Regions from separate parts of the Homo sapiens genome. Here all the other regions are linked to region 2. Evidence: promoter capture Hi-C in human tissues and cell types (Jung and others, 2019). All regions are on one chromosome and are shown on one strand. The core of a region is centred on a gene start or on the middle of the fragment in contact, and the rest is flanking DNA. Distances in the headings are between cores, read along the strand shown. Region 1 holds the start of TRL-CAG2-1 (tRNA-Leu (anticodon CAG) 2-1). Region 2 holds the start of DOK4 (docking protein 4). Region 3 has its middle 21 kb from the start of CCL22. Region 4 overlaps ADGRG1 (adhesion G protein-coupled receptor G1).

Region 1 (6,457 bases), core at 2,892-5,391, 190 kb after region 2:
CATCAAGGGAGCACTTTCTCCCAGGCCGGCCAGGAGGGCAGCAGGCAGGGCGGGGCTGGTGTGGGCTCCAGCTCTGGCGCTACCTCTGTTCCCTTCTCTCTAAAATGATGTGCACTCAGAAAGGTTGGTGATGCAAGAAATGAAGGGAGGGTCCCAGAGGTGGAGAGTGCAGGGCTTCTGCCCCAAAGAGGACCTTGGGCAAGTCACTCAGCCCACCTGAGCCTTACCTCCCTGGTCTGCAAAATGGGGTGAAAGTGGGAAGCTAGCAGCCCCTGCTTCAAAGCCCTTGCCTTCAAGGGAAACCAAGCATCTAGTAACCTGGCTCCCCTATGGCCTTCGTGACCTCCTATTGCATCCCTACATCCTCTCTCTCCACCCTGACACCCCACACACACACCAGCCAGCCAGCAGGGCTTGTGTGTTTTACCCCAAAACACATCCTGAATCTTGAATTCTACCACCTTTTGCAATCTCCACTTCCCTGGTCCAGCCATCATCATCTCTTACCCTCCCTGCCCTGGCCTTCCCCCTGGACTTCCAATTCTTCCCTTGGCCTGCCGTCCATCCTCCACACAGCAGCCAAAGGGATAGTTTTTGAAGGGCCCTCAGGACCATGCCACTCCCCTGCTTAAAACACTCCAGGCTGGGCACAGTGGCTCACACCTATCATCTCAGCATTTTGGGAGACCAAGGCCGGAGGATCTCTTGAGCTCAGGAGTTCGAGAACAGCCTGGGCAAAGTGTCAAGATCCTGTCTCTACAAAAAGTATAAAAATTAGCCAAGTGTGGTGGTGCACACCTGTAGTCCCAAATACTTGGGAGGCTGAGGCAGGGATTGCTTGAGACCAGGAGATTGTCTGCAGTAAGCCAAGATTGTGCCACTGGACTCCAACCTGGGCCACAGGGCTGGACCCTGTGTCAAAACAACAACAACAACAAACAAAAACACAGCAGTTACTCCATCACAGAAGAAAATCCAAACTCCTTTCCCTGGCACTCCAGCCCTGTGTGATATGGCCTGAACCTTCCCATCACCTTACCCCTGCCACACTGGCCTTGCTGTCCCTCCAACAGACTATATTTCTCTCTGCCTCAGAGCCTTTGCACTGGCTATGTCTTTTATCTGAAATGCTGCCACCTGCAGCTTTGATCTTGCTTGTGTTTCTCCTTTTGAACTCAGTGTCAGCTCCTCACAGAGGCCCTCCCTAACCACCCTGCCTAGGAGAGCCCCAATCACTCTTGATCACTGTTAAAAGGGTATTTTTTTTTTTTTGAGATGGAGTCTCACTCTGTTACCCAGGCTGGAGTGCAATGGTGTGATCTCAGCTCACTGCAACCTCTGCCTCTCGGGTTCAAGCAATTCTCCTTCCTCAGCCTCCTTAGTAGCTGGGATTACAGGCAAGTGCCATGACGCCTGGCTAATTTTTGTATTTTTAGTAGAGACGGGGTTTCACCATGTTGTCGAGGCTGGTCTTGAACTTCTGACCTTGTGATCTGCCCACCTCAGCCTCCCAAAGTGCTGGGATTACAGGCATGAGTCACCTCGCCTGGCCAAAAGGATAATTTTTAAGATAAAATCATAATTCTCATATAAATATAAAATGAACACGTCAAAGATTTTATTTTAGTCATTAATTAATGGGAGGACCTGTTCAATGTTATAGCCAATTCAAAAGAGAATTCAAAGACACACATATATTGGCAATCAGGAATGCTGAAATGAATTTATAAGCAGATTGCAAAATTGGTCAATATCCACAGGGCAATGATCAATTGCATTCTACCCTAACAAAATTCACCTGTATTTCTGTGGACAAGAATTATTTGGACATAAAAGTAATGAAAGGTGCAAGCCCTTATAGAATCAGATCCAGCTATCTTTTTTGCCTGTTTTAAAGTCTTTCATGAGTTTCTTGATGCATCCTCTACCCAGCATTTAACAACACCTGGATGTATTTGTCCACCTGTTTCTTATCCTTCTCCCTTCGCTCCATGCCTGAATGTATCTTGAGAGTGGAAATTCTGTTTTGTTCACAGCATCTAGAAGAGTGGCACATAGCAAGTGCTTAATAAATGTTTGTTGACTTTCTTTCCAGCTTCCAGGGCAATTTGTATTTTAGAAGAGGACACAAAAGAGTTTAGTGCTAAACCTAAAGGAAAGAATTCTGGCAGTCAATGAGGAGAGGACATTTGGGACAGGGAAAGAGGAGGATTTCATTGTCTTTCAGATAACCAGGACCTCTGCCCACCCCCATGGGGCTGCATCCCAAGCTCCAAGCATCTCAAGGGAATCTAATCCAAGGGTGGTAAGTGCTGCTGTTCTCTGGCCGAGGCCGCTCTGTGATACCATCTCAGACAAGTCCGAGGGCACTAAGAGGTTAATGTGACCCCACTGCTCACACCTTCTAGGCCTGACCCCTGGACTCCAAAGTTGGCTCAGAGATGTTCGAGGGTCTTGGACCCTCTCTTCTAGTGCCTGTGTACAGAGAGGGGCAGCAGCTGCCATTGTAGGAATATGAGTCATTAATGAGGGAATTCATTAATTAATGTGTAATTGTTACACACCAGGTCAGCGGCCCAGCCCCCTGAGATCCTAGAAATCCTTCTGGAGAAGGGCACCCTCTCGGTACCGAGGTCTTCTGGTCCCTGGAAACAGCCTGTGCGCGGCGTGCGTAAGCCTAGAGGGGGTGGAAGGGAAGAGAGGAAGATGCCGCGGGGGCCAGGAAAAGAGAGATGAGTCACGAAATGAGGGGATGCAGGAAGGAGGAAGCGAGGGAAGAATGAATCCATGGGATCTTCCCTGCGTACCTACTGTGTGCCGGGTACGGTTTGGGCACTGGGGACATAGGAATAGGGCGGGTCTGGCTGTGCAGCTGCAGGCCTCGTTCTATCCCGGAGCCTGAGTAAATGAATTATAACACATATACAAATGTGAAGCTGCAGCTGGGGCGAGTATTCGGAAGGAGAGCGCGGTAAGAGTGCCAGGCGGCCTTGCAATACCTGGGCTTTACCTAGATTGGGCGCCAGCCCACGGAAATGTCTGCGAATCAGTGCAGGTATACGGACTTGATTGCATTGTGCACAAGGGAAATGCAAGGTTGCTTGCAGATTTCAGGAATCAAAGCTGACATGATAGTACATGTATGAATGCAGAATGAATACAGGCTGGAGGCACGAATGCATGTGTATTGAAGTAACAGTCTTCGGTCTCGGCCTTCTCTAGTAGGCCTTGCGCACCCTCTGGCGTCGCCTAGGTGCATCGCGCTGACCTTCCTTGTCCCATCTCTCCACGCCCATTGGAGCAAGTGAGTGTATCTCGCTCCACCCAACGCCGGGCGGACAACTAGGAGTGGGTCTTCGCTGCCCACTACGCATGCGCATATTGCAGAACTTGTGAAGAGGCTTTATGCGCCACACACTGCAAGCAGTCAGGATGGCCGAGCGGTCTAAGGCGCTGCGTTCAGGTCGCAGTCTCCCCTGGAGGCGTGGGTTCGAATCCCACTTCTGACAGAGCTCAATTACTTTTCCTCATCAACACCGCAGATCAGTGAGGTTATGATGTCTTGTGTGTATGTGTTCTGTGTATATGTTCTTATAATCTTTTTTTATTCTTTTACAGATCAATGAGGTTATGATGTCTTGTGCGTATATGTTCGCATAATCTTAATTGTTTTACAAAACGAGTATTTTCTTATTAACGAGCATTTTCTTTTTTAAAAAAGAATCTCGCTCTGTCGCCTAAGCTGGAGTGTGGTGGCGACATCCTCCCGCCTCAACCTCCTCCGAAGTTGGGAGTTCAGAATCACACGACCACGTCCTGTCAGACTTTTTCTTCCCCACAGACATTCATTTAGACTTTGGATTGTGTGTAAAACGTACGGTCCTCTGTGTTTGAGGGCCTCTCTTGGTGTGCGGTCGTCGAAGATTTCTCTTCTGAAATACCGGAAAAGAGCGCTTGTCAGAAGTGGGATTCGAACCCACGCCTCCAGGGGAGACTGCGACCTGAACGCAGCGCCTTAGACCGCTCGGCCATCCTGACTTCCTAGGAGAGACTATTTTGGGGTCTGATGTAGTTCCTCTCATGCTTCAACGACGCTCGGGACTCAGAACCCAGAGGCGGTGTCCCGGGCAGTTCCGAGTCCGGCCTGCAGCTTAGGTTATCCACAACCAAACCCATCCGGTGCAGCGAGACTCACTGCTGTGGTCAAACTGGCGCTTTCAACTGAATACACAGATAATTTAAATGGAAAATCAGTTTCCCTTACCATCAACAGAAATAAACACAATGAAAACGAAATAACGTTGCTAAATTCTAGCTGCCTGCCCAGGCTCTGAGCCTCAAGTGGTGGTATTATGAACTATTACTAATACCGGTCGGATGTTTCGGGCTGTGAATGGGGCACTGGCGGAGTAGGGGGCGGGGTTTGGAGAATTATTGTTGGAAGGAGGACGCTCTATAAGGTTTTTGTCATCCGCTCCTCAGGACGGGAGGCCTTGGGTTGGGAGATCCCACTCTGCAAATGATTACCTAGGGCCTCATTCAGAAAGAGTTGGCTTTTAGACCTTTCTAATAAGCTGATCAAGGGAAAAAGTTGGAGATTGTTAAGCTTGGGGAAGAGAATTATTATCTGTCTACAAAAGCCTGATATACAAGGGGTTGGGATTGTGTCTGCCTGTCCTTTTTGCTCCAAGAACTGGGGCCCGAGGTGGGGGTGCAGTGGGTGAATAGTTACAGAGGATGGGTTTGGGAGAAGAAAGAGTTTGCTGGAAAGGAAACAGGGTGACTGTATTGGTAGTGATATCCCTGTCGCTGGAGGCATTCAAGACGAGGATCGATGGTCACTTGGTGGAAATGCTGCCAAGGAGATTCAAGAGTTTCTATTGCTGCTGTAACACATAACTACAAATTTGGTGGCTTAAAACCATCCCATTTATTTATCTTACAGTTCTGGAGGTCATAAGTCTAAAATGGGTCACAGGGTTACATTCCGTCTGGAGGCCAGAAGGGAGAATCCATTGCCTTTCCTCTTCCAGCTGCTGGAGACCACCCACATTCTTTGGCTCCTCAGTCCACACCACTCCAAACTTTGCTCTGTCTTCACATCACCTTCTCTGACTCTGACCCTCCTGCCTAACCTCTTTATAACAACCCTTGTGATTACACTGGGCCTGTCTGATAACCCAGGGTCATCACCCCATCTCCAAATCCATTATTATTATTATTGTTATTATTTTGAGAAGTAGTCTCACTCTGTTGCCCAGGCTGGAGTGCAGTGGCACGAACTCGGCTCACTGCAACCTCCGAATCCTGGGTTCAAGCAATTCTCCTGCCTCATCCTCAGCCTCCTGAGTAGCTGGGACTACAGGCACACACCACCATGCCTGGCTAATTTTTGTATTTTTAGTAGAGACGGGGTTTCGCCATGTTGACCAGACTGGTCTTGAACTCATGACCTCAAGTGATCCACCCGCCTCCCAAAGTGCTGGGATTACAGGTGTGAGCCAATGCGCCCGGCCCAAAGCCTTAATTTAACCACAGCTGCAAACTCTCTTTTAACCATTTAAAGTAACAGAGCCACAGGTTCCAGAGATTAGGATATGATGAGGAGACTCATTATTCTACCAGTGCCCTAAAGCACAATTTGATTTGGAAGATTCCATCCAGGGGTAATTTTCTATAATATCTTTGGTCTGAAACCAACTTTCCCCACCACTTCGCTGTTCAGTCTCCCCAAAACTGCTCTGAGTTCACCTCCCCCCTCATCACAAACGTGGCTGGTGGATCCCGGAGGCCCCTGCTAAACCTTGAACAGGTTGAGAAGTACTGCGTTTGAATTCCTGCCGTGTGACCTTGGGTAGATCACTTCACCTCTCTCAGCCATACAGGAAGGAAGGGAGGAGTTGGGGCAGGGGTCCCTAACCCCTATAGCGGTCTGTGACGTGTGAGGAACCGGCGGCATAGCAGGAGGTGAGCCACACACAAGCTAAGGAAGCTGCATCTGTATCTACAGCCACTCCCCATCGCTTGCATTATCGCCTGAGCTCCGCCTCCTGTCAGATCAGGGGCAGCATTAGATCCTCATAGCAGCGTGAACCCTATTGTGAACTGTGCGTGCAAGGGATTAGGCTGCACACTCTTTATGAGAATCTAATGCCTGATGATCTCCCATCACCTCCAGATAGGACCGTCCAGTTGCAGGAAAACAAACTCAGGGATCCCACTGATTCTACATTATGGTGAGTTGTATAATTATGTCATTATCTATTACAATGTTATAATAATAGAAATAAAGTGCACTATGAACATAATGTGCTTGAATCATCCCAAAACCACCCTCCTAACCCACCCCTACCTCCTCTGGAAAAATAGTCTTCCACAGAACCAGTCCCAGTCCCTGGTGCCAAAAACGCTGGGGGACTGTAACGCCATTCATCGGTTTCTTTGGGTGTAAAAGACA
Region 2 (5,272 bases), core at 1-2,500:
CTTGGCCATGGGCCTGGGGCTGGTTAGCTCAGGCTGATCACAGACACCACAATGACCATCAGGGAAATTTTCAGACATCCAGAGGCAGCCTCCTTTTAAGCTCCCTGGGCAAGGCTGAGGCCCAGGCGTCTCCGGGGCAGGGGCATGCATTCCATGGGTGGGTGTTGGGATCCTTGGTCCCTCACTGCTTTAGGCCTATTCCTCTGAGACACCTGGACAGTAGCTGGATGTGGAGGTATTTTCATTTCTCAGGATTTTGGCTGTTCAGGTGGCCTATTGTTTTGTTTTGTATATATGGTCTAAAGCAGTGGTTCTCACACATTCGTGTGCATCAGAATCACCTGGCCTGTTAAAACACACATTTCTGCTGGAAACCCCCAAAAATTCTGATTTCATAGGTCTGAGTAGGGCAGGGAATTTGCATTTCTAACAAGTTTCAAGGTGATGGGAAGCTTCTGGTCCAGGGACTACACTTTGAGAAGCCCTGGTGTAAAAAGGTACAGACGTGAAAACCAGAGGGGGGACAGCTCCTCCCCAGAGGAGGCACTGGGCAACTTCTCTTGTCCCTGCCTGGCACAGCTGAGGCCTGTGACTGGGGATTCCGACAGATCAGTGAGTCAACCACTGCACAGGCCCGAAGGGCAGAGGTGAGGGGGTTGGGGGCTGGGTGGGGGCAGCAATGAAGGGGAATGAAGTTTGAGCTTGAGGGCAAAGTCTCAGGGGGACCTAGAATGGGAGAACTGGATGTTTTGAGGGTGGAGAGGAGACCAGGGAAGACAGAGGTGCTGGTGCGGCTACTTGAGGAGGGGTAGCAGAGGAGGTCACTGTGGGGCTGGGAGAGCTGGGCTGTGAGGGCCCAGAGAGTCATGATGGGGTTAGGGGAGCAATGGGTGTGTATGTGATTCCTGAAGAAGTGAAGGAATTGAGATATGGGGGCTGGGAGCTGATGTGGCGTATGGGTGTGTATGTGATTCCTGAAGAAGTGAAGGGGTTGAGATGTGGGGGCTGGGAGCTGATGTGGAGTTCAGCTTTCAGGGGCTGAGAGGCCATGTGGGCTTTGGGGCCCAGGGAGGGGCGGTGGGAATGAGCTGGGGGTACCGGGGGCGACCTGAAGCGGGTGCGGGGGTGCCAGGGCGCCAGGGCAGAATCGCGCGTCCCGCGGCTCGGAGGAATACGGCGGGGGCCGGCCGCCAGGGCGGGGCAGGGGGCGGGGCGCAGCGGCGAGACCTGGCGGAGGGGGGAGCGGAGCGGAGTCCCAGCCGGAGCCCCAGCCGGAGCCCGATCCCTAGCCCTGCGGCCGCGCCTCCCTCGCCGTCCCCGCCTGGAGCCCGGCGCCGCCGCCGCCCTGCCGCCCCCGCCAGCCGCGCCGTGACGCGGGCATGAGCCTGCTCCGCGGCGCCGCTGAGCAGGCGCTCCTGGCCCGGGCCTCGGCGCCCAGGTAAATTGGGGGGCGTGAGGCAGGGAGGGGGACATAGGCCGCCCAGAGCCTGCAAGAGTCTCGGCGACTCCCACCCCTGAGGACCCTCAGTCACTTCCTGAACCTGAGGACGCTCCGTCCCATGGGACCTTCCTACTCTCGGGTGGGGAGCTTAGAGACCCGCCCCCCAAAAGCCAGTGCCTGGGCCCTGAAACTCCCTGCGCTCTCTCCACCCGCAGCTTTCCTCTCCGGGGGAGCCCAGGTCGCGAGCTGACCTCACCCGCACCCACACAAACCTCATCCGAGCAACCCAGGCCCTGCGCTCCCGGGCCTGCCCCCCCGGAAGGGGCATAACCCAGCCCCTGGCAGCTCCCAACCTTCTCTCTGCCTTCCTGCTCCTCCCCGGGGCCTCCTGTTCGCTCACCTCCTCCAAATTCCAAGAGATGATTTTCTGTACCCCAGCTGGCCCCCACTGCCGACCCCCTCCTGCCTATGGGGTTTCTCCCCACAGCCCAAACTCATGGCCAGCTGCCTCCTGTCCTTGAACCTTTCTCCATTGGCCCCCAAGGTCCTGTCCACCTTCTCCCCCAGGGCCCGCAAGGCCCTAGATCCAGTTACATGCTTTCTATTACTGAAAAGGGGCATGAGCCGAGGCTGGGCACCTGGGTGATGTGGCAGAGCAGGGGCTCTGTGCAGCCTGCCTGCCCCAAGCCATGGGGACACGTCAGTTGCTGGGGCGCTTCCGCTTGGATGGAGGGTGTGGGTTGGAGGGGTCTGATGGCCAGGGCAGCGAGGGGCCTGGCAGTATCTCTAGGAGACTCCACTTGGGCAGTGTGAGGTGGGCTTGCTTAGGGCAGGTTCTTTCCTGGACCCTTTCAGAGGGATGTGGCGCTGGTACAGGCTCTTCCTGCCCCCACCCCCAACTCTGATCCCAGGAGCTGTGCCTCCTCTCCCCAGTTGCTTGCCTTGCTGTGCTGGTACTGGTTACTCCCAGCACTTCCCTCCTGGGCAGGGCAGCAGGGCTGGGCATGACCTCACCCCACAACCCTGGCCAAGGTGGGGCCGCCCAACTAGGCCTGGCCTCGATGTCAGCAGCATGCTCTTCCCTGAGGCAGCTCTGAACCAAACTGCGGGTCTTGGGCACAGCTGGTTCTCCAGTAACAACAGCCTGCTGGCCATGCCAGTCAGCGCTGAGACCCAGGAGCTGGGAGCCCACTGTGGCTCACGCACCTCTGGAAGCTGAGCCAGGTCCAGCCAGATGGAGGCTGGTGGTGGTGGAAGAAAGGATGGGGAGGAGGACAAGTCCTGGAGAGAATTACGTGTTCAGCCCCCAAATATTGAGCATCTCCTTCCCACCGGGCACCATTCTGGGAGCTGGGATAGAGCTGTTAACTAGACAGACGAGGCCGAGCCACCAGGGAGCTGACATTCCAGATGTCTCTCTGTGGCCAGAAACAAATGGACAGATGTAAGAACAAGAAAATCCCATGGTGATGTGCGATGAAGACAGCCGCATCTGATGTTGTGAGAGAGGCTGACTAGTGGGGGTCCTTTGGTGAGGGTAGTCAGGGAAGGCCTCCTGGAGGAGGTGGATGAAGCAATGGAATGAACCATGAGCATGTGAGGGAACAATGTTGTAGGTGGGAAACAGCTAGTGCAGTGGTCCCTCGAGGGAGGGGTTTTGGCATGTTGAGGGGTGGGCAGGGGACCCAGGAGAACCAGAGTGGTACGGGGCCACAGCATTACTCTCCTGGCTTAAGGGTCTGGGGGACCATGGCTGTTCAGATGTCCCCTCCTTCTGCCGTCCCTGTCTGCCTAGATGGGTATTTGGTCTGTCTTTGCCATCCACCTTGATGGGACTCACCATGTTTTGGCCGGTGGCCCCTATGGGGATCTGTTGGGAGCACTCCCAGCCGGCCTCTGACAACAATCTTGGGGTGGGGTGGGGGCAGAGCAGCAGGTGATGGGAAATGGCTCTGGTGCTGGAGAGAATCCCACAGATCCAATCTTCGCCGTTGGATCGAGACAGCCAGACGACACTGAGATGGTGTCCAGGTAGGGCTGTTCCTGCAGCCCTGATAAGATCCGATCTGTCAGGGGTGGGGAGGCCCAGCCAGGCAGGCAGCCGCTCGCTCAGTCATTGGTTGCCAGCCTCAGCGCGTTTGTTCTGGAGCCAAAGCCTCCAGGCAGAATCCATGTGCGAGAGGGAGTGCTCAGCATGGCTGCCCTGTGGGGCAGGTGGGCAGTGAGGGCCCTGGGAGTCTCCCTACTCCCCGCCACCCCAGGACACCAGCCCTTCCTGGGGAGAGGAGCATTTTGGAGCTGGCTCTCCCTGCGCGGAAACCTGTGGTGGCCTGGCACCAGGCAGGTACTGTCCCTGGGTAAGCAGCAGTATTGGTACCAGGCTGGGAGGTGGGATGCGGGGGGCCCTTGCTCCCCTCCTCCCTCACTGGAACCCTGAGAGCGACTGCTGGACACCGTGCTTAGCTGGGAGCTCGGAGCTCACAGTGCTGGGGAAGGACCCAAGACCTCAGGTCCTCTCAAAGTAGCAAGCATTCTTCCTGCTGCAGGCCTGTTGGGGACAAGGGCCTGAGGGACAAACAGGGCAGGGGCTACTTCAACCCAATTCCTGGCCTGCCTAGCCTCAGCTGCCCTCCAATTTTTGTATTTTTTTAATTGATTTTTTTGAAATTTTTTAGAAACAGTCTCACTCTATCACCCAGGCTGGAGTGCAGTGGCTTGATCATAGCTCACTGCTACCTGGAATTCCTGAGCTCAAGTGATCCTCCCACCTCGGCCTCCCCAGTAGCTGTGACTACAGGCACGTGCCACATGCCCAGCTTATTTTTTCATTTTTTGTAGAGACGGGGTCTCTCTATGTTGCCGGATCTGGTCTTGAACTCCTGGCCCCAAGTGATCCTCCCACTTTGGCCTCCCAAAGTGTTGGGATTACAGGTGTGAGCCACTGTGCCTGGTCTGCTCTCCACTTCTTGCTGTCCTATTGGGCCTTCACAGGCTCAGCTTGGGGGCCGCCTCGCTTGCTTAACACAGTGCATTCCTTCTGGAGGATGGTGGGTTGGTTCTGGGCCCCCCCCTCACCACTTGACCCCACTGCCTGTCAAATTTGTGGGTCCACCTATTGGCCCTGACCTTTCCCTCCCCTTCCGAACCCCTCTTTGCCCACCATTTTGGGTCCTAGGTTAGGTCTTGCTCTTGCAAACATCATTAGGGACTAAGTGTGGCCAGGGGTCCCTGTGACTCAGGGCCGGAGTGAGCTGGCAGGACTTTGGCACCCAGCCTTCCCCGTGAAGGTCACTCTTCCCGCTGGGGACCTGGGGTATGGGACGGGGTGGGGCCTATGGACAGACGCAGCAGGAGCACTCCTGCGAGCTTGGGGCCACAGTCCCTGGTGGGGCAACACTGGGAAGGAGCAGGCTGGCTTCTGGTGGTTTCACCGCCCTGTCTGGGCAGCAACTCTTGAAGAAAACTATATATATATACATACACACAGCCCTTGGAGTTTTCAAGGCAGAAGCTCTGGCCAGGCGCAGTTGCTCACACCTGTAATCTCAGCACTCAGGGAGGCCGAGCCTTGTGGATCACTTGACCCCAGGAGTTCAAGACCAGCCTGGGCAACATGGTGAAAACCCATCTCTAGGGGCCGGGCGCAGTGGCTCACGCCTGTAATCCCAGAACGTTGGAAGGCCGAGGCGGGTGGATCACAAGGTCAGGAGATCGAGACCATCCTGGCTAACACGGTGAAACCCCGTCTTTACTAAAAATATGAAACAATTAGCCGGGTATGGTGGTGGGCTCCTGTAGTCCCAGCTACTCGGGAGGCTGAGGAAGGAGAAT
Region 3 (7,039 bases), core at 2,666-5,165, 150 kb after region 2:
GTAAAACCACAATTGCTCTTTCTTCAAGAAGAAAACCCTTAGAAAAGCAAACAATTCTACACATTCCATCTACCTCTTCTGCCATTTGATATGTTTTGTGGGTTTCCAATTGGCTTTTTGGTATTCTATAAAAATGAGAGTCATCTTATAGCCTGTAGGGTGAGGGTGTGAGTAGCATGGCTATATCCTAAGTCTCAGAGATACGGGCTCTGCTACCAACTGGCAGTGAAGCTTGACTACCAGGCCCTGTGCCCTTGGGACTCAGGCCCTGACTCTGTGAAATGGGACTGGTCATGCCTGCCACTGCCAGGCTATTTGAGGATCAACAACTTGCACATTCGCAGCTCCAAATGATCTTTACAACAGCCTTTGGTGATTGAAAGGGTATAAATGCCCCTTGCACATTTCACAGATGGAACACCCGAGCTGGACGGTGACATGCTTGACCCAGGGAAACTCCAACTCCCAGTCCCCAGACAAGAGGTAGTGGCTGAAACTGAGAGGAGGTGACATCTTATAGGGAAGGAAGCAGAAAGGGGAAGCAGAAAAGCATGAGGAATGGTGTGAGGGGAAGAAAGAAGAAGAAAATGTATGGACGTTTATCCCAGAGCCCAGGGTTCTTTCCGTAGTGCCTCCCAACCCTCGGTTCCCTGTTATTTACTCACCCTGAAGCCTGGTAATCTGGACACAGATGGAGAATTATAGAGAAGACCAGGGGGGAACCAAGAGCGTTTGGAATCTCAGGAGCCTTCAAACTGGACAATGAACAGTGTCATCTCTTTCTGTGGTCAGTGGCCACCTACCTAAGGAATGGGTCCCCCAGGACCAACCATGTGTCAGAAGGCTCCTCCTCTTGCCCTTCTTTTAGTGTGGGATCCTGGAAGTCACTGTCACAGGGATGCTGTATCTACATGGGCTTGGACTCCTCGTACGGAAAGAATTATTATTTTCTCAAGTGGTAAAATGTTAACAGTTGGTGGATCAGGATGATGGAAATACAGGAAATACAGGATTTCTTTACTCTATTTTTGCAAATTTGCTGTAAGTTTGAAATTACTAGAAGATAAAAAGTTAAAAAATAAAAAAAGAAGAAGAAGAACAAGAGCTGGGCATGGTGGCTCACACCTGTAATCCCAGCACTTTGGGAGGCCGAGGCAGGCGGATCACAAAGTCAGGAGTTTGAGACCAGCCTGGCCAATATGGTGAAACCCCATCTCTACTAAAGATACAAAAATTAGCCAGGCGTGTTGGTGGGTGCTTGCAGTCCCAGCTACTCGGGAGGCTGAGGCAGGAGAATTGCTTGAATCCGGGAGGCAGAGGTTGCAGTGAGCAGAGATTACGCCACTGCACTCCAGCCTGGGTGACAGAGCAAGACTCTGTCTCAAAAAAAAAAAAAAAAAAAAAAAAAAAAGAAGAAGAAGAAGAAGAAGAAGAACCCAGAAACCCCCTCATGACCTCTTCCATCACAACCCCTCTGCTGCCACCACCAAGGAAAGCCCATTCTGGCTCCTAATACCTAAACTAGTTATTTCTATTTGAATCATAGAAAAAGTGACTGGGTGCACTGGGTGCTCATGCCTCTAATCCCAGCACTTTGGGAAGCTGAGGTAGGAGGATTACCTGAGCCCAAGTTCGAGACCAGCCTAGGCAATGTAGTGAGGCCCCATCTCTCCAAAAAAAAAAAAAAAAATACAAAAATTAGCCAGGCATGGTGATGCAAGCCTGTGGCCCCTAGCTACTAGAGAGACTGAGGTGGGAGGATCACTTGAGCCTGGGAGGCCAAGGCTGCAATGAGCCGGGGGGGGTGACAGAGAGAAACACTGTCTCAAAAAAACAAACAAACAAAGAACAGAAAGAAACACTGAATCATACAGAAAGCATTCCTTTATGCCTGACTTCTTCTCTTTTTTTGAGACAGCGTCTCGCTCTGTCACCCAGACTGGAGTCCGGTGGCACGATCACGGTTCGCTTCAGCCTCAACCTCAGCTATCCTCCCACCTCAGCTCCCCTAGCAGCTAGGACTACAGGCATGAGCCACTGCACCTGGCCTGTGCCTGACTCCTTTCATTCAACATTATGTTTAGGAGATTCAGCCATGTCTTTGCTTGCCCTTTTACTTCATTCTCATTCCTCCACAGTATTCCATTGTAAGAATGTATCACATATAGATGGGACTTCCAGAATGACTGAGTGAGGAAGCTCTGAAACACCCACCCACCCACACAAAGCCCTCATTCTTTTCTCATTAAAGTTCAAGACTTTTCAAAGTAAACACTTCTCAATTTGTTACATACTGTGTTAGTTTTTTCTTTTTTCTTTTTTTGAGACAGAATCTCACTCTGTCACCCATTATTCTACCTACTACTTATAATTTTGATCAATCTCCAGTTTTCAAATGATTATTTTTTCTCACAGTTTTGCAGTTTTGTTATAAGTTTTTGTAGTTTGTTATAAGTTCTGCTAAGTTTTGTATTTTTAGTAGAAATGGGGTTTTTCCATGTTGGCCAGGCTAGTCTCAAACACCTGACCTCAGGTGATCCACCCGCCTCAGCCTCCTACAGTGCTGGAATTAGAGGCATGAGCCACCGTGCCCTGCCAAGAAAAATTATTTTTAAGAGAACCAATAGAAATTCTGGATTTGAAAAGTATAGTGTCTAAAATGAAAATTTCCCTGGAGGGGCTTAAAAGCAAATTTGAGCTGACAAAATAAAGAATTGGCAATCTTGAGGATAGATCAGCAGAGATTATACAAGCTGAATAATGGAGAGAAAAAAGACTGAAGAAAATGAACAGAGACTAAGAAGCCTTGGCCCATCATCAAATGCACCAACATCCAGGTAACAGGACTCTGAGAAAGAGGGAAAAAATAGAGAAATGGGCAGAAAAAATATTCAAAGAAAAAAATGGCTGAAAAATTCCAAAATTTGATGATAACATTAATCTACACATCCTAGAATCTGAATGAGCCAGAAGTAGGATAGACTCAAAGAGATCCACACATGAGCACGTTATAATTAAACTGTTGAAAAGAAGAAAATAAAAACTTGAAAGCAGAAAAGAAAATCCATCATATACACAGAAATGACAGTAAGATTAACACATGACTTTTGTCCAAAACAATGGAGAAATACACAACAAACTAGGAATAGAAGGAAACTACCTAAGCATAGTTATGTGCAGATTAAAACAAACCTGATAGTGAAAGACTGAAAGCTTGTTCTCTAAGACCAGGAATAAGTAAGGATGCCTGCTTTCACCACTTCTAATAACATAGTACTGGAATCCTAGCCAGAGCAATTAGGCAAGAAAGAGAAATAAAAGGCATCCATATTGACAATGAAGAAGTAAAATTATCTCTGTTTGAAGATGACATGATCCTATATGCAGCAAACCCTAAAAATTGCATCCATTAAAAAGCTATTAAAACTAACAAACAATTCAGTAAAGTTGCAGGACACAAAATGGTCACATAAAAGTCAATTGCAGCTGGGTGTGGTGGCTTATGCCTGTAATCCCAGCACTTTGGGATGCCAAGGCAGATGGATCACTTGAGCTCACAAGTTCAAGAACAGCCTGGGCAATATGGCGAAACCCTGTCCCTACAAAAAGTACCAGAATTCACTGAGTGTGGTGGTGCACGCTTGTGGTCCAAGCTACTTGGGAGGCTGAGGCAGGAGGATGGTTTGAGCCTGGAAGGCAGAGGTTGCAGTGAGTCGAGATCGCACCACTGCTCTCCAGCCTGGGTGACAGAGCCAGATCTTGTCAAAAAAAAAAAAAAGCAAACAACAATTGCATCTCTACACACTAACAATTAACAATCTGAAAATAAAATTAAGAAAATAATTCCATTTACAATAGCATCAAAAAGAATAAAATATGTAGGAATAAACCTAACCTAACCAACAAGATAAAAGGCTTATATGTTGAAAACTACAAATGTTTCTGAAAGAAACAAAGACACAAATAAATGGAAAGACATCCTATGTTCATGGATCAAAAGACTTAATATTGTTAAGATGTCAATAGTAACCAAAGCAATCTACAAATTTAATCCAATCCCTATCAAAATCCCAACATCATTTTTAAAAAAAATTCTAAAATTTATATGGAAACTCAAGAGAACCCAAATTGCCAAAATAATATTGAAAGAGAAAAACAAAGTTGGAAACATCACACTTTCTGACTTAAAAACATACTACAGGCTAGGCAGGGTGGCTCATGTTTATAACCCCAGCACTTTGAGAGGTCAAAGCAGGAGAAATGCTTGAGGCCAGGAGTTTGAGGCCAGCCTGGGCAACAAAGTGAGATCCCATCTCTACAAAAAATAATAATAATAAATAAAAATAAATAATAAAACATACTGCAAAGCAACAGTAATCAAAGCAGTGTGGTACCAGTATAAAGACAGACATATAAATGGATGGAACAAAATACAGAGCCCAGAAATAAACTCTTGTTCATATGGTCAAATGAGCTTTGACAGGAGTGAAAAGACTATACAATGGAGAAAGGACAGTTTCTTCAACAAATGATATGGGAGAACTGAATATCCACATACAAAAGAATAAAGTAAGATCCTTACTTTATACACCATATACAAAAATTAAATCAAAATGGATCAAAAACCTAAATGTAAAAAATAAACTATAAAACTTTTAGAAGAAAACATACAAGAAAGCTTCATGACATCAGACTTGGCAAGGATTTTCTGGATAATCATACCAAAAGCACAGATAACAAAAGTAAAAATAGATACATTAAACTACATCAAAATCTAAAACTTCTGTGCATCAAATGACACAATCAACAGAGTGAAAAGACAACCTATAGAATGAGAGACTATATTTGCAATTACATATCCAGGGTTAATATGCAAAATATATGAGGAACTCGGCCAGGTGCAGTGGCTCACGCCTGTAATCCCAGCACTTTGGGAAGCCAAGGCAGGTGGTTCACCTGAAGTCAGGAGTTAGAGACCAGCCTAGCCAACATGGTGAAACCCCATCTCTACTAAAAAATACAAAAAATTAGCCAGGTGCGGTGGTGTTCACCTGTAATACCAGCTACTTGGGAGGTTGAGGCAGGAGAATCGCTTAAATCTAGGAGGCAGAGGCAGCAGTGAGCTGAGATCGCACCACTGCACTCCAGCCTGGGTGACAGAGTGAGACTCCGTCTCAAAAAAAAAAAAAAACATATATATATACACATATATATATATATATGTATATATATATATATGTATATATGAGGAACTCCTGCAACACAATAAGAAAAAGACAAATAACCCAATTTTAAAATGAACAAAGGACTTGAATAGGTATTTCTCCTAAAAAGATATACAAATGGCCGGCCAGGCATGGTGGCTTACACCTGTAATCCAAGCACTTTGGGAGGCTGAGGCAGGCAGATCACAAGGTCAGGAGATCGAGACCATCCCATGAATGGTGAAACCCCATCTCTACTAAAAATACAAAAAATTAGCTGGGCATGGTGGCGGGCGCCTGTAGTTCCAGCTACTTGGGAGGCTGAGGCGGGAGAATGGCGTGAACCCAGGAGGCGGAGCTTGCAGTGAGCCGAGATCACGCCACTGCACTCCAGCCTGGGCAACACAGCAAGACTCCGTCAAAAAAAAAAAAAAAAAAGCAGATAGACAAATGGCCAAGATGAAAAAACGTTAAACATCATTATTTATTAGGAAACTGCAAATCAAGACAAATATCAACCCACACCCATTAGGATGACTAATTAAAAAAAAAAAGACAGAAAATAACAAGTGATGGCAAGGATGTGGAGGAATTGGAACTCTTGTTCACCGCTGGTGGGAATATAAAATTGTATAGCCACTATGGAAAACAGTATGGTGGTTCCTGAAAAAATTAAAAGTAGAATACTATGTGATCCAGACATTCCTTTTTGGGGTATATATCCAAAAGAATTGAAAGCAGGATCTTGAACAGATACCTGCACATTCATGTTCACTGTGGCATTTTTCATAACAGTCAAGAGGTGGAAGCAACCCAAGTGTCCATCAACAGATGAATGCATAAACCAGATGTGGCATATACACAAAGTGAATATTATTCATTAAAAAGGAAGGAAATTACGACACGTACAACATGGATGACTTTGAGAACATTACGCCAAGTAAAATAAGCCAGTCTCAAAAGGCAATACTGTATAATTCCCCTCATGTGAGGTAACTAGAGTAGTCAAATTCACAGAGACAGGAAGTACAATGGTGGTTGTCAAAGGCTGTGGGGGATGAGGGAATGGGGAGCTGTTTAATGGGCATAGAGCTCCATTTTGCAAAAAAGATGTTCTAGATACTGCTCACACATCATTGCGGGTGTAGCTGACACTAAGAGATCGAGCTGACTGGTATCTCTTCTGATGAGGATACTAATCCTATCAGATCAAGGCTCCATCCTTATGACCTATTTAACCTCAATTACTTCTTTAGAGGGCCCATCACCAAATACAGCCACACTGGGGCTTAGAGTTTCAACATATGGATTTTTGGAGACACAAACATTCAGTTCATAACAAGCAACTGGGAAGGTGGAATGTGATTGCTAGAGTTTCCATGTTACATCATTTTATTTTTTTCTTTTATTTCCGTGGGACCCTGCTTGATAACATGTTGTATCATTTTAAATTTCCAGTTTTTAATTTAAAAATTTTGGAGACATGTCAAAAAATGGGAAAGTATGACCCATACATTAGGTGAGGGAGAGTAGTCAATAGAAGCTGTCTCCTGAGGAAGCCCAAACATTGAACTGTGAGACAACAGCTTTAAGTCAACTATTATAAATATGTTCAATGAACAAAAAGAAACCATGTCTAAAGAATTAAAATATACAATGTCTCACCTATAGAGAATACCAATAAAGAGATAGAAATTGTAAAATAAGGAACAAACAGAAATTCTGGAGTTGAAAAACATAATAACTGAAATGAAAAAATTCACTGGAAGGGCTCTAAAGCAGCTTTGAGCTGGCAGAAGGAATAATTTGTGAACTTGAAGATAGGTTAATTAAGA
Region 4 (6,737 bases), core at 3,985-6,484, 160 kb before region 2:
AAGGAAACAAGTGAAGCGACAACATGGGGTTCCACGGAAGAAATCCAGACACACACAAGGGACCAACTGTCCCTGCCACTTCCTGAGTCATCCCCACTCCACCTCAGCTGTTTGAACAACTACTCCAAGGTGGACAGCCCTGGCTCCATTAACATGCTTGAGGCTTGAGGGGAGGGGCTGGCTGGCTTCCTTTAACCCATGGGGTAGACTCTAGAGCCAGACTGCCTGGGTTCAAATCCTGACTCCCTCACTAGCTGTGTGTCCTTGGGCTAGTTACTCACCTTCTCTGGGCCTCGCTTTCCTCACTAGTAAAGAAGAATAAAGAAGTCAACCTCACTCAAAGGTCATTGTGAGAATTAAATGAATTGATACCTGTAAACGGCTTAGAGGCAGGTGCCATCAGTCTCAGCTAAGTATCTCTGTACTTTCTAAACAGCTCATGCCTGCCCCTAACTCAGCCCCCTGGGCCTGTCACAGGCCCCTCCTCCCTGTTTCCCCCTCTTCCCGTACGGCCCCCAGCAACCAGCTCACCCACCAGAGCACCTTGAGGGGAAATTCTTAGAGCATGAAGCTTCCTTTCCGGGAGAGTGCAATGGAAGGTTAAACCCCACCCAGAAAACTTCCCTCCTCCAGAAGCCCGTTGGGACAGGAGAGCTGGGCTGGGGACAAGAAAGTTGCCACACAGATTGGGCAGGGGGACACTGTCACGCTTGTCCACTTAGCGCCCCTCCTTCATCCCTGCCTATGCCACCCCTCCAGGTCTGCCCCACGCACACACACCTGCCACCTGCCCACCCACCCACCCAGGCGCCAGGGATGTAGCATGAGTCTCCGCACAGACCCCTGGGACCTGACCTGTCTCTGCCTCTGGAGCCGCAGATCCCCAGCGCTACAGGGCCTCAGCCATCAGGCGCTCAGTACCAACCACGGCCCCACAGGCAAGGGCCCTGCCTCTGCTCACACAGAGCCAGAGGGAGTGGCTGAGCAGGGGGCATTCTAGCAACACCCCCGCAATGATAATGTTAGTGGTGACATCCACGTTATCACACCAAACCCTCAGAACCACCCTGTGATACGGGTCTCACTGCTACCATTTTACAGATGCGGACACTGAGGCTGGGGAAGGCTGTGTGTTCTGAGATCACACGAGCGTGGTGCCAAGTCTCCCCCTCCTTGTAGAGCTGGCATTGATAAAGGCCCCAGAGATGCACATCCTTCCCAACTCCCCGGCTTTAGAATCCCCACAAAGGGAAGGAGAGGAGAATGGAGAGTAGCAGAGAATCCAGCCTGGGATAGAGGGTGCTGGGGCTGAGGCCCAAGGAAGCCCCCACAACCCCCAGCTTCCAGAGCAGCCGCCCTTGACCTCAGACCTTCCGTAAACACACACAGGACAGAACAGGCCAGTCCAGTCTGACACAATGGGGGCCACATCATGGGGTTCCCCAAGGATCCAGCAGAGTGGAAGGTGGCCAGGGTTTGTCTGAGCTGAGACCCCCACCCCACCACCAGCCCATCCCCCGCCCCACCCCCAGGGCTCCAGCTCCAGACCTGGCTCAGCCCTGCCCCTCTGCACGGTGGGCAGTGGGGACCCACGGCTCGCTTTCTCCCGGGGGACCTGAGTCACTTCCGTGTGGAGCCACGAGTCACCGCTGCCCAGGCCAAGCTCCTGGAAAACCCATTTCCTCAGAGGATGGAGGTGGAAGTTGAGTGGACAGGACCTGGACGGCTCTGGGATTAACCCTTCCCGGGCAGGCGCCTCTCTGCTGTCTCCTGCCGGGAAGACCCACGAACCTGGCCATCCACTGCTTCCTTCTTCCCTTTACACACAGTGACCACTGCCCGCCCCCGAGCACAGGCATCCCACCCACAGACCTTTGCCCCTTGGTGTCCCTTTGCCTTGGATAGCACTTAGCCCCGTGACATTCCGCTCATCTTTGAGACGAGCTAAGACAAGTCCTCCCCATGAAGCCTCACCTACCCGTCCATTCCTTGCCAAAATTAACGCATGTTCCTGCTGGCCCACAACCCACCCTCAACACAACACGCCCCCCATTGCCACAGGCGCTCACATCAGAGGCTCCCAAGCCTGCCGGTGGGTCAGACCTTCCTCTGGGAGTGAGCTGAAATGCAGATTCACAGTCCCGGCCCAAAGAGGGTCTGATGGGGTGGGCTTGGGAGCTTGGCTTTAACAAGCATCCCGTTGATGGACATACTGCAGGCTTGGGAACCACGGGCTTATGAACCAGGGAAAGGCACCAGCAGCCCTGGTTTAGAGATGGTCAGAGAGGGGAGGGACTGGCCCCGCATCCCTCAGCTGCTAGATGGTAGGGCCTGGACTCGGGGCCAGGGCAGCCTGCGTTCCAGCACTCTCTTCCCTGCCCTGTGACGCAGACCCATCAGGCTCCTCTGTGGCTCCCCCAGCATTTAGCGGGGCCCTGGAAGGGGCTTCCTGAAAGACATCAGGAGAAGGGCAGGCATCAGGTTGGGGGGTGGTGGGGTGGGAAGGGAGCCAAGGAGGGAGGAACGAGGGAGCCCCGGAGGCAATCTCCAGGTTCCAGCCTAGTCTTGCCCACCTGGAGGCCTTCCCCTTAAATGGGCCCTCGCTGGGAGAGGCAGAGGGGAAGACCCCCCCAGCTCAACTTCCACTGCCCTAGCTCCCCTCCCGTCCGCAGCTGCTCTCCTGTGGGCTGCTGGGGCACGACACTGAGCTGCTGAGCCTTTGGAAGCAAGGATTTGGCCCAGGGGGTCGGGCGGCAGGGTGAGGATGAACTCCTGCGAGTTACACAGGCATGTGGGTGTGTGTGCGTGTGCATGAGTGTGTGTATGTGCATGAGTGTGTGATGAGTGTGTGCGCCCATGCATGAGTGTGCATGTGTGTGTGCATGGGGGTGTGTGCCCATGCATGAGTGTGTGATCAGTGGGTGCCCGTGCATGAGTGTGTGTGTGCATGAGTTATGAAGTGATGAGTGTGTGTGCCCATGCATGAGTGTACATGTGTGTGTGCATGGGTGTGTGTGCCCTGCATGAGTGTGATCAGTGTGTGCATGTGTGTGAGGAGTGATGAGTGTGTGCCCATGCATGAGTGTGCATATGTGTGTGTGCATGGGTGTGTGCCCGTGCATACGTGTGATCAGTGTGTGCCAGTGCGTGTGATCAGTGTGTGCCCGTGCATGTGTGTGCTTGTGCATGAGTGTGTGAGGAGTGTGTGATGAGTGTGCGTGCCCATGCATGAGTGTGCATGTGTGTGCGCATGGGTGTGTGCCCTTGCATGAGTGTGTGATCAGTGTGTGTGCTTGTGCATAAGTGTCCGTGTGTGCATGTGTGTGCCTGCGCATGTGTGTGATGAGTGTGTGTGCCCATGCATGAGTGTGCATATGTGTGTGCATGGGTGTGTGTGCCCGTGCATGAGTGTGTGCATGTGCATGAATGTGTGAGGAGTGTGTGACGAGTGTGTGTGCCCATGCATTAGTGTGCATATGTCTGTGTGCACATGGCTGTGTGCCCGTGCATGAGTGTGTGATCAGTGTGTGTGCCCATGCATGAATGTCCTTGTGTGCATGAGTGTGTGCCTGAGCATGAGTGTGTGATGAGTGTGTGTGCCCGTGCATGACTGTGCATGTGTGTGCATGAGTGTGTGTGCATGAGTGCGTGTGCCCGTGCATACACAGGGATGCATGGGGCCAGGAGGAGAAAGCAAGAGAAGGCGGGGAGCTCCTCAGAGGAACAGACTTCAAAGCTGGGAAGGGGACAGGGAGGGCGGGGCACAGTGCAAAGAGCAGGGCTCTTGCAGGTGTTTCCTCCATGGTGGGTGGCGTGGCGTCTGAGAGGACCCTCCCTCCAACGGTTTCCAAACTTTTTTAATAAAAGTAAATCTTACTTGGAAATAGCATGTACCCAACAGCTCAAAGTAGACACCCCTGTCAGACCCAGGTGGCACTCAGGGCTACGCCCCACCCCCAGCCCAGTCCCCCCACCCCTCAGCCGCACCCATGGGTCCTGGGATAACAGCTTGCAAAGGCAGAAGCACTCTCCTCCCCTATTCCCACTCCCCTCCCCCATTCCCACTCCCCAAGTGAGTGACGGAAGTCCAAGCTAGGTGACCACAGAGAGCTCCCCAAGAGGGGTATTCCAGGATCACTGGCAGAAGCAGAGTGACTTCAGTTTTCAGGAATTTTCCTACAATAAAGGAGAATAAAATGAAGCAAGCTGCCTGCCTCGGAGGCTGGCAGGTGCCCAGGCCTGGCCCACTCACTGCCCAGGGTGAGCCTCACACTCTTACACCAGACCTGCTGGACACCCCCCACCCCCCATACCGCCAGCTCAGGCCTCACTGTCCCCGTGGCTTCTGGTCCAACCAAGTGCTTGAGCCACAACACCCTCTGCCTGCCCAGACACACCCTGTGGGAAGAGTGACAAAGGGGAGAAGTTGGGGCACTCCCTGCCAGCCTGAGAGGGAAGGACCCACTCATAGGAAGGGACTCCAAGTCCTCCCAGAGAGTCAGTTGTCCAAAGCCGGCTGCCCTGCTGCCTCCCATATGCGGAACTGGGCATTTGCTTAAGAGGCCTCAGAGAAGCCAACATATAGTCATCCAGCCAGGAAGAAGCCTGGCCTTGGATGCTCCCACCTCCAAGCCTTTGCACACACTGGTCCTCCTCCCTGTGATGACAACCTTGTGACACGTCTGTGAGAGTCCCAGTGTCCTGGCCTCAGGCCCCCACATCCTCCCAGTCCCCATGCCTGGCAGGACACCAGATGATGAGTGGGACTAAACAGGGGTCTTATCTGGTGCAGTGAAAAGGGCCCTGGAATCCAGGGAGATTCTAAGAGGAGAGGGAGGATCACAGCTTCCACTCACCAAGTGCTCAATTAGCCGCTGGCATCCTGCAAAGCACTTGGCAAAAAATTAATTGTTCAATCCTCACAGTAACCCTATGAGCAGAGCCCATGAATCATGCAATCCTCGCAGCAACTTGGTGAAGCAAATGCTATCAGTGTCCCCACTTTAGGAAACTGAAGCCCAAAGAGGTTAAGTAATGCCCAAGATCACACAGCAAATAAGCAGAAAAGCCGGGACTCAAACTCAGGTCCGCCTAACCTCCAAGCCCAAACTTTTAGCCATTGTGGTCTTCTGAGTTCTTTCTCTTCTCTGGGACTCAGTCTCCCCATCTTTACCATGAGGTAACTTGCCAAAGCACTTTCAGGGAGCACTAGTCCCCAGATTAGAGAAATGCTTGTGGGCCATACTTTCTGTTGTATATTAGCATATCAAAGGCTCTGATAAGTCCTGCAGGAAAGAAACCCATAAAGCTTGGTTGGGCAGTTTCCCAACCCAACGTGAAGGTAGAGCCTTTTTTGCACGGACACCTGTTATCCACATGGAAAAAAGCTCTCAGAAATCTTGACGCCACACAGAAGCCTGCCAGCACCTCCAGCCCCCTCCCCTCCCTTCCCCTTTGAGCTGTCCCAAAGGTCATTAGCTAGCATGAGATGAGCTAGAGGAGACACTTAGGCATTCCCCAGGGCCACTCATCATCATCCCTGACACTTCCAGGAAAGAGGTCCCTGGTGAGCCTGGGGTATATTCAGGCCTATCCCACCTCCCTTCGGCCGGCAGCACCAGCTCGTGGGGAAAAGGGCACTGCCAGGCCTGTCCCAGGTGTGCCATTCCATTAAAGTTGGCCGTGGCCAGCTGGGCCTGTGACTTCATCTCAAGCAGCTAAGACACTCAGGATGTTGGAAAAGAGAGAGAAAGAATATGAAGATGCAAGAGTTTTAGGAGATGAGAATCAAAGTCTCTTAGAATTTTGGAATTGAAGCCAGGGGTAGTAGTGCTTGCCTGTAGTACCAGCTACTTGGGAGGCTGAGGCAAGAGAATTGCTTGAGCCCAGGAGTTTGAGGCTGCAGTGAGCTATGATCATGCCGCAGTACTCAAGCCTGGGTGACAGAGTGAGACCTTGTCTCTAAATACAAATTAACAAAAAAAAGAAAAGAAGAATTTTGGAGGCCAGGCACGGCGACTCACGCCTGTAATCCCAGCACTTTGGGAAGCCAAGGTGGGCAGATCATTTGAGGCCAGGAATTCGAGACCAGTCTGGCCAACACAGTGAAACCCTATCTCTAAACAAACAAACAAAATTACTGGGCATAGTGGCACACACCTGTAATCCCAGCTACTCGGGAGGCTGAGGCATGAGAATCACTTGAACCCGGGAGGTGGAGGTTACGATGAGCCAAGATCACACCACTGCACTCCAGCCTGTGTGACAGAGCGAGACCCTGTCTCAAAAAAAAAAAAAAAAAAGGACTTTTAGAATTGATTGAAGAGACTTAGAACCTAAAGGAGAAACAGGGATTAGGAAGGCACTGGGGACACCAGCCTGTCTTGAAGGGACCTCAAAGAGCCAAAGAGCCAGCAGTCCGAAGACTCTGGTGCCAGGCCTGTTCAGCTTATGCTCCTGGGGTGGTCTGCAGCCACGTAGAGGTTCATGGCCAAGTCTCCACCTGGCCATCTCCAAGGAGCAGCTGAGGCCAGCCTCCTGGGCGCCAGGGCACACACCAGTCAGTACCTGCCCAGGGAATGTACATGCCTAGAGCAGGGGTGGCAGGAGTTAGGGGCATAAGGTTCAGACAAGCTCTGCAGCCAACTGGAATCTTGAGGCCAGCCTGTCCCTTCTCTGGGCCTTATTTTCTCCTCTGTCAAGTGGGCAACTCTGATGTTTGTCCCCTGACTGCCTTC

Evidence for each region. The method cuts DNA at HindIII sites, captures the fragments that hold promoters and counts their contacts. A contact is called where the count stands out against the background at its distance.
Region 1: a contact is called between a fragment that was not itself captured here and the fragment with the promoter of DOK4 in region 2, in 1 of the 25 tissues and cell types used here (lymphoblastoid cells).
Region 3: a contact is called between a fragment that was not itself captured here and the fragment with the promoter of DOK4 in region 2, in 2 of the 25 tissues and cell types used here (lymphoblastoid cells and mesenchymal stem cells).
Region 4: a contact is called between a fragment that was not itself captured here and the fragment with the promoter of DOK4 in region 2, in 1 of the 25 tissues and cell types used here (lymphoblastoid cells).

Annotation. Positions count from the first base shown.
Region 1 is chr16:57,297,532-57,303,988 of GRCh38, reverse strand. It overlaps TRL-CAG2-1 (tRNA-Leu (anticodon CAG) 2-1), which reads right to left and starts at 4,038; the gene lies at 3,956-4,038. It overlaps TRL-CAG2-2 (tRNA-Leu (anticodon CAG) 2-2), which reads left to right and starts at 3,427; the gene lies at 3,427-3,509. RefSeq lists silencers at 3,395-3,564, 3,855-4,064 and enhancers at 3,715-3,774, 4,185-4,314. The HindIII fragment of the contact is 5,049 bases long and covers 1,617-6,457 here.
Region 2 is chr16:57,482,471-57,487,742 of GRCh38, reverse strand. It overlaps DOK4 (docking protein 4), which reads left to right and starts at 1,250. Exons shown (of 9, transcript NM_018110.5): 1 at 1,250-1,438. RefSeq lists a silencer at 1,070-1,369 and an enhancer at 1,201-1,997. The HindIII fragment of the contact is 12,171 bases long and covers 1-5,272 here.
Region 3 is chr16:57,334,692-57,341,730 of GRCh38, reverse strand. No RefSeq gene overlaps it. Among named protein-coding and RNA genes, the nearest start is that of CCL22, 21 kb to the left of the region's middle. The HindIII fragment of the contact is 4,385 bases long and covers 1,723-6,107 here.
Region 4 is chr16:57,641,131-57,647,867 of GRCh38, reverse strand. The region is part of intron 1 of ADGRG1 (adhesion G protein-coupled receptor G1); the gene reads right to left. Among named protein-coding and RNA genes, the nearest start is that of ADGRG1, 16 kb to the right of the region's middle. The HindIII fragment of the contact is 4,588 bases long and covers 2,941-6,737 here.